Linked DNA regions of Homo sapiens: region 2 is linked to region 1. The links are contacts of gene promoters, found by promoter capture Hi-C in blood cells and fetal thymus (Javierre and others, 2016). All regions are on one chromosome and are shown on one strand. Each heading gives the region's core, a stretch centred on a gene start or on the middle of the fragment in contact. The rest is flanking DNA. Distances are from core to core; before and after follow the strand shown. Region 1 holds the start of ALG14 (ALG14 UDP-N-acetylglucosaminyltransferase subunit). Region 2 holds the start of ZNF644 (zinc finger protein 644).

Region 1 (3,676 bases), core at 186-2,685:
CTGGGCAACAGCGTGAGACTCTGTATAAAAAAGAAAAAAAGCAAGATTTTAAATACTCTTTACAATCTGGACTCAGTTTACCTCCCTACATTGAACTCTACACGATAGTGTTCTCTCAACTCTGGTCATTCCAAGTGTTATCACCTTCTTTTCACATCCTCCCAGCCCTCGAAACCCTGGCTGTCCCTCATCTGACTAATTCTGGGTCATCTTTCAAGTTTCAGTTTAGCATCATTTCTTCCAGGAAGCTGTCTGTTTTTTAAGACCTGATAAAGTAGTGCCCTTCCTGAAGACTGCCATAGCAATTTGTACTTCTTACACAATTATTACAAGATTATAGCATTTATCTCATTGTGGCAAATACTCATTTTGATTTATTTTCTGTTAGTTTTTTTGTATTCTCTATTTCATTTACTGCTGTATCTTTGCATCTCTCACAGGACTTAGCACGGAGTCAGCACTCCGTGGCAAGTAATGTTAGTCAGTTTTGTTATTTCCAGAGGTTAGTTTAGTGTTTGGTCTTTCTAACAGCTCAAAACAGATTAAGTGAATAAAGTAATGCGTTATACTTGAACATAAACTTAGTACATTTACTCATACTATACATGTTCTATCTGGATGCAATCTCCTGCCATACCCAAATGTTTACATTGTGTCTGTGTGTGTCTGTCTGTCCCTGTCAAATATGTGTATTTAAAATTGTAAGCACCTACAGAGTTGGTGGATTTAGATTGTATTACCTGACAGGTCAGTGTGTTGCTCACACTCTGCCACCGCGTGTGTATTGTTCTACAGCCCGTAGATCATTGTTTTTATCCTCTTGGACTTTGTATATTTATAAATGTGACAATTCATTTTGCCTCATTTGTCATGTAGCATTCGTGTTTCCTAAACTAAATACGCAATACCTAGATTAATAATGCACAACAGCCATACGGGGAAACTGCATGTTTGCATCAAAAGGCTTCTACGTTCTCTGTTCACTAATTGTTTGAAAAATATACGCTACAGAGAGTCTTAATTATAGACAAGTGTAAATTACTTGTCATAAAAAAAACCTCTGGGCCGCGTCAGCAAACCAGCCCCTACCCTGGCTGGACTGCCCGGTTCCGGCAAGGCAGAGAAACTACAAATCTCTGCATGCAACACTCCAAGAAGTGCTAAGGGTACCAGGGAAGAGCGTCGCGGTGCACTCTGGGGTTTGTAGTGACCAACCCAAGTCCGACAGTCGCCTCCTCGATACTTACCGGACCCAGCCACTACCAAGATACTGAGAGACTCCCGGGGCGTAACGTCCATGGAACGAAGCACTACCCATATTCGCAGGATTAGGAAAACCGCCACAGCTCCTGCGGCCGCAGCTAGAACGAGAACGCACACCATGCAGAGAAACGGCGCATGCGTCCAACTTCCGGGGACCAGCCGCTGTCAAAGTTCACAACTACGGGTGCCGAAGCGACTCAAACGCGGAGGACGCACGTCTTGGTGGGCTGGTCTTTCCTGAGCTGGGAGGAGTGGAGGCGACGGAGAAGCTGAGGTCCCAGTCACAATCCATTTTACCTCATTTATCATGTAGTATTCGTGTTTCCTAAACTAAATACGCAATACCTAGATTAATAATGCACAACAGCCATACAGGGAAACTGCATATTAGCGTTAAAAGGTTTCTACGTTCTGTACGTTCACGTTTGTCAGCGGAACCCCTGCTTCTGCGCGGATTGTGCGCAGCTGCAGCCAAGCGTAAGCTGAAAATTGTAAAGTTAAGCGCTGGGGAAGCTTGATTTACGCCCACGACGAGGTCAGGCAGTCTCTGCGCCCTAAAGGTCCCGAAACTCCCCAGTTAGGAGGTGTTCTGGCTCTGTCAACTTCGTGAATGCCACCTGAAGCTAAGGGAATACATCCTTTCTTTCTTTCTTTTTTTTTTTTTAATGCCAAGAGAAATGTTTCTGTTGCACACAGACATTACTGAAAGTGTTCGCCAGTAAGGACCCTAGGCTTAAACATCGAATTTAGGGCCCTCATCCAAACCCCCTGTCTCCCAACATGTATGTTTTTAACTTTTCTCGAGGTTTTCACAGCTCTCAGTGTGACCAGAGTAGTTGAGGGTGACCACCTAAAGGTAAGCCACACTCCTAAGAGGATTGCAAAGCTCAGTGGCTCTAGGTAGCAGGATAGACAAGGCACAGTCCTACAATTAATATTCAGTTAATTTTATCACAAAGCATTTCCAGTGTGTTTCTCATGTCCTCAGCCAAAATGATGATCTGCCAACACCCCCTTCAATCTCAATTTTGCTTATGTCTAATTAATTAATTGTTAATAAATTAATTATGTCTAATTAATCCACATTACGACAACATAAAATACTAAGATCAGGAGCCCCTTCACCCCAAATATAATTTGCCTTCGGTCCACCATAGACCTACCTGTAGGTTATATTGAACAGGTATACAGATGAGTAAAAAGGTTCAGAAAGGTGCAACTGCTTGCCCAAGTGGAATAGCGTCAGATCTAGAATCAGAAACCAGAAATCTGAGTCCTGCTGGACAGGAGTACTGCATCCTGTATTCCTTTGCTAAATTCAAACTTGCCTGATCACCACACTTACCTGGAGCCTAGAATGTGTTATTAAAGGTGCAGACTCCCAGGGTCCATTAGGAAACACTGAATCAGAATTTCCGGGGATCGGGCACCTGGGATTAGCTTATGTAACCAGCGTGTCCATTCCTATCAGCAAGCAAGTTTGGGAGACTTTGTGAGTAGAGTCCGTGGACCTTACAACACTTTCCAAATTGTCTTCCATCAAATCTTCTTTCTTTTCTTTTCTTTTCTTTTTTTTTTTTTTTGAGACAGAGTCTCACTCTGTCGCTTGGCTGGAGTGCAGTGGCACAATCTTGGCTCACTGCAACCCCCACCTCCCAGGTTCAAGCGATTCTCCTGCCTCAGCCTCCCAAGTAGCTGGGACTACAGGCATGCACCACCATGCCTGGCTATTTTTTTTTTTTTTTTTTTTAGTAGAGACAGAGTTTCACCATGTTGGCCAGGCTGGTCTCGAACTCCTAACCTCAGGTGATCTGCCCGCCTCTACCTCCCAAAGTGCTGGGATTACAGGCATGAGCCACTGCGCCCGGCTCCATCAAATCTTCTTAACTATACATTCTCGCAGTAAGACCTTAAAGTGGATATTAGTTCCCTTTTTACAGACAAAGAAGTAGATTCCATAAAAGTTAAATAATTTGCCTAAGTCTACTTAGCTAGTAAGGGTGGAGAAAGTTCATAGTTGTGGACTTAGAAGTCAGTGTCTCTCAAATTTTAATGGAATCAGAATTCTCTGGGCTTACAAATGCGTAGTTGGAAGTCCAGAGGTAGGGTCTTTGGTGTAGTAAGAAAAACAGCTCAAGGATAATACAAGGAGTATCATTTACTTGTATATGCCCACTCTGCCATTCCTAATAATGTCTTCAACCTGAAACAGTCTTACCTGATACTTAAGACACTAGTGGTCCCAGAATGGGATGTGTGGATGGTTACATCCAACAGGGCAATCTCCATAGCCAAAAAAGAGGTTATCTTGTCGGGTCTTTTTTGCCCCTCCCCCCCAGTCTTGCTCTGTGGCACGGTCTCGGCTCACTGCAACCTCCACCTCTGGGATTCAAGCAATTCGCCTGGCTTAGCC
Region 2 (3,797 bases), core at 1,298-3,797, 4.1 Mb before region 1:
AAAAACACCACTTCTAGAACTGCTTCAGTCAATGCTATACCTGACAACTTTACTCAATATTTACAGATTCTCCATATACGAAATAGACATTCTCTCTACCAGAAAGATTAATAAGTGTAAATAAAAGCTCATTTGAATATGTATCCATAGTATTACAGTATCCACTCTTCATTCTCGTTTTATTTTACAAGGTTACTAATTTAAAACATTTAGAAAACAGTTTAAAAAATGGTTAAAACAAGTGCTCTATAAAATCAGGGTTAGATAACTCAACATGCCAATTTCTCCATTTGCTGCAAGCTACAATTGTCTTAAGACCTGACTGAAAAGCCTTCCCAAGAATAAGATTCACTTTTCCTTCCAGAATCACATCCTGAGAAAATGGTCTAAATAAGTAACACTAAAAAACAATATTTAGGATGACAGAAAAAAAATGGACCTGACCTTTCTCTAGATTGCAGATATCCCACCACTTCTATTCTCTTTGAAACTTTCTTTTCTCCTCCTGCTACCCATTAACAGTCTCAATTCAACCAAAACACTCTTATAACTTGAATGACAAACTAAAACTGGAAAATGTTTAAGGTTGGCAGGTGACAGACCACTTTATAACTACAAATAACCTGAAAGTGACTCTAATTTTCACAAAATGAAAGTGTAAGTAAATCCACTCACATAATGTTGAAAATTATAAAACAGCTTATCAACTAACAAAAATCAGTAATTTAAAAGCACCTTATATGACCCATAAAAACTTTTAAAACCTTAAAACAATTTAACTTTTTGCTAAATCTGACATTCAAAGAAGTTAAAAATCACTATAGGGTTCCACCATAAATGACTGTCACTACTTGTTCAATTTCCTAACAGACCTTAGAGGTACCACTCAGTAGAAGTAGTAGTCTTAAAAAGTTGTTTTAAAGAAAGGGAACATTCTGAGTGGCACATTCGTTTATCCAACCAAAACACTATTACAAAATGAAAGACACCATTATTTTCAGCATTGATCTCATTTCTTTTCCTACATAATAACTGGCAATAACAGCAGTTATTTCAAACTTTCAAAGAAATTTATCAAGTCCCTGGTTGTTGTTTTTTAATTTTTCAATTTCTGGGTCAAGACTGCATTTGGAAAACCTTAAAATTCAAAAGCAACATTGCTCTGAAACTATCTGATATTTCTGTATTTTGTACCTGATTTTGTTTCACTGAAAGTCACTTTAAAAACCAAGTTAACCACAGAATATGAAAGTTTTTTTGTTTTTTTGTTTTGAGATGTAGTCTTGCTGTGTCACCAGACTGGAGTGCAGTGCCACGATCTCAGCTCTCTGCAACCTCTGCCTTCCGGGTTCAAGTGATTCTCCTGCCTCAGCCTCCCGAGTAGGTGGGACTATAGGCACCACCACGCCCAGGAAATTTTTACATTTTTAGTAGAGACGGGGTTTCACCATGTTAGCCAGGATGGTCTCGATCTCTTGACCTCGTGATCTGCTCGCCTCAGCCTCCCAAAGTGCTGGGATTACAGGCGTGAGCCACCGTGCCAGGCCAATATGAAAGTTTTTAACTTATTGTCACAGAAGTTCTCATGAACCTAACAATATTTAATTAACAAGTATTCTCAATAACATTCCCTTGTTTTTTTAACCATTAGTTGTAGATATTCACCTTCTCATCCCAGCAATATGACAAATACAAACAGCAATGGGTAGAGGCTGAAAGGCAATTTTCCATTATGCCACTAACTTAATCATCTCTGGTCCTCAATATATTGTAAAAGAGGAGGGTAAGAGCAGTTGTTCTTTGATATTGCTTCCACTGTAAAACTTTATGATCCAGGAATACATTTGCTAATGTTAATGCATCTCCTATTCATTAATACAAGACTGTTCTGTATTAGAAGCTAAAAAAAGAGAAAATATATATCTGAAAAGAACAAGGAAATGAAAGTTAACTAATGTTGAAAAATTCAAATTTCAGTTTGAACACAGAGATCTACACAGTGATCTAATGTGTTTAAATATCCCTCCAACCAAGGAATTCTGTTAATTGCCAACACAAAACATTAGGTGTTTCAAAATTTTGTACTTCATGAGTTAATACCAACACAAAGTATGATATAATTGCAGTATAACTTTAATTTGTTAGAAATTGTAAGACTTTTAAAAGCAATACATACCACTGCATTAATACTAATCAAGCTTTATGCTTCACCAATTAAAATGTCTAAGCTAGATTATAGCCTTATTATAAAAACGAGGTTTTTCTTAGCAAGCCTACCAAAATGCAATATTACTGCCATCAAGTTCCCTAGATACTTACACATGCAACTGAAGGCAAACAGCCAGGTTTCCTTTCTTTGAGAAACTTTAGTTGTCTATTTTTTGAAATGTTTTCCTTCTCATGGGACCAAAAAATGTTTACAACTAAAGCAAACTACTGCAGGGAGGGAATACACAATTAAAACAAATCTACCATCCAGATGCAACAAGCGTGGAATTAGGACTGGACAGGATAGTCGGCGGTGTTGTGATACTTCTGTTGAAATTATTAACAAGACAAGACCATCATTCGCCCCCAATTATGTTTATCCCCTCGTTGAGTTTGATGATCACACAAAATCTGAAGTCTAAATATAAACGTTTTTATATTCAAAGTCAATATTCAAGAAAACTTTTCCACTAATGTTGCTAAACCATAGATGGATCCCAACAAGAGTTGTCTGTAGAAGTCTCGTAACAAGTAACCTTTAGCTCCACCACCTAAGTTTCCAATCACTGAGAAGAGTCTGGGACAACTCATCTTCAGGTTCACGGGAGAAGTGGAGCACACCTGCTTTCCTCTGGCAGAGTAACTTCCCAGGGACACAAAGGCCAGAGAATCAGACCTGGAGAGGCAAAAAGCTTTAGCTGGACACCCACCAAGCCCCTGGCAACCCAAACACTTCGAGCGATTTACCTCTTGCTGTTACTTCCCAGGCACCTAGCCGCATAAGATCTTGCAGGACGGGGGGAGGGGAGGGCTATGCGGTCCTGTCCCAAGTAAGGGGAGGGGTGTAGACAGTTAATGCCAGAGCCAGCGTTTCTGGCCACAACCGAGCAGCCTCAACGAGAGGGGTTGGTGACTGCTCTCGGCCCGCCCCGTTACTCAGTGCATTGCAATGGCGACCGCCAGGCTCCCCAAGCCGCCTGATCTCGGCCCCTTCCCCCTACTGCTCACTGGCTGCTCGGCTTCATGTGACTAAACAAAACCCCCAAGTCTAGTGCCCAGCTCAGCCCCTTTGTGTCCGCTACCGGATCCTCCGACGCCGCAGCGGAAAGCCCCCCCCCCATCCCCCCGCCGAGTCCCGCCCCGCGGCGGCGGCCGCCGCTCACCTCAGGCTCCGTGGCCCCCAGCGACCGCCGCGGCCGCCGCCTCCCCGAACCCGGGGCCCGGGCTCCTTGTGTAGCACCAACTCCGCCTCCTCGGCCGCCGCCGCCATCTTAGCCTGTGCGGCAAAATGCGTCCTTTTGGATGGCTGGGACCCAGCCTAGGGCGTAGCTCCCCGGGCCCGAGAGCCGGAGGCCGGGTCCCCCAAGTTCTTCCGCCACCCTCAGTCCCGCCGCTGCCACAGCCCAGAGGCCCGAAACCCACTCGGGTCCCAGCGAATCTGACCAAATAACCCCTGAAACTCACAGTTTGGTGCCGTGTGCGTCAAACCGGGGCGACGTTGGGAGCACGCGGCGTCCCCGCGTCACACGCCGCTCTGTACGCTACTCGGCTCCAGCGGCCCCCCTCCGCTCCCCGCTTTTCGCCTCCAG

What was found. Contacts are between HindIII fragments. The CHiCAGO score rates a contact against its expected background, and 5 or more counts as called.
Region 2: a contact is called between a fragment that was not itself captured here and the fragment with the promoter of ALG14 in region 1, in 1 of 17 cell types (naive CD8 T cells). The highest score is 5.9, in naive CD8 T cells.

What each region holds. Positions count from the first base shown.
Region 1 is chr1:95,071,516-95,075,191 of GRCh38, forward strand. It overlaps ALG14 (ALG14 UDP-N-acetylglucosaminyltransferase subunit), which reads right to left and starts at 1,436. Exons shown (of 4, transcript NM_144988.4): 1 at 1,248-1,436. The coding sequence starts at 1,383. RefSeq lists enhancers at 878-957, 1,198-1,557. The HindIII fragment of the contact is 2,572 bases long and covers 1-1,774 here.
Region 2 is chr1:91,018,318-91,022,114 of GRCh38, forward strand. ZNF644 (zinc finger protein 644) reads right to left here and starts at 3,718. Exons shown (of 6, transcript NM_201269.3): 1 at 3,673-3,718. RefSeq lists enhancers at 2,975-3,524, 3,525-3,797 and silencers at 3,308-3,377, 3,708-3,797. The HindIII fragment of the contact is 702 bases long and covers 2,197-2,898 here.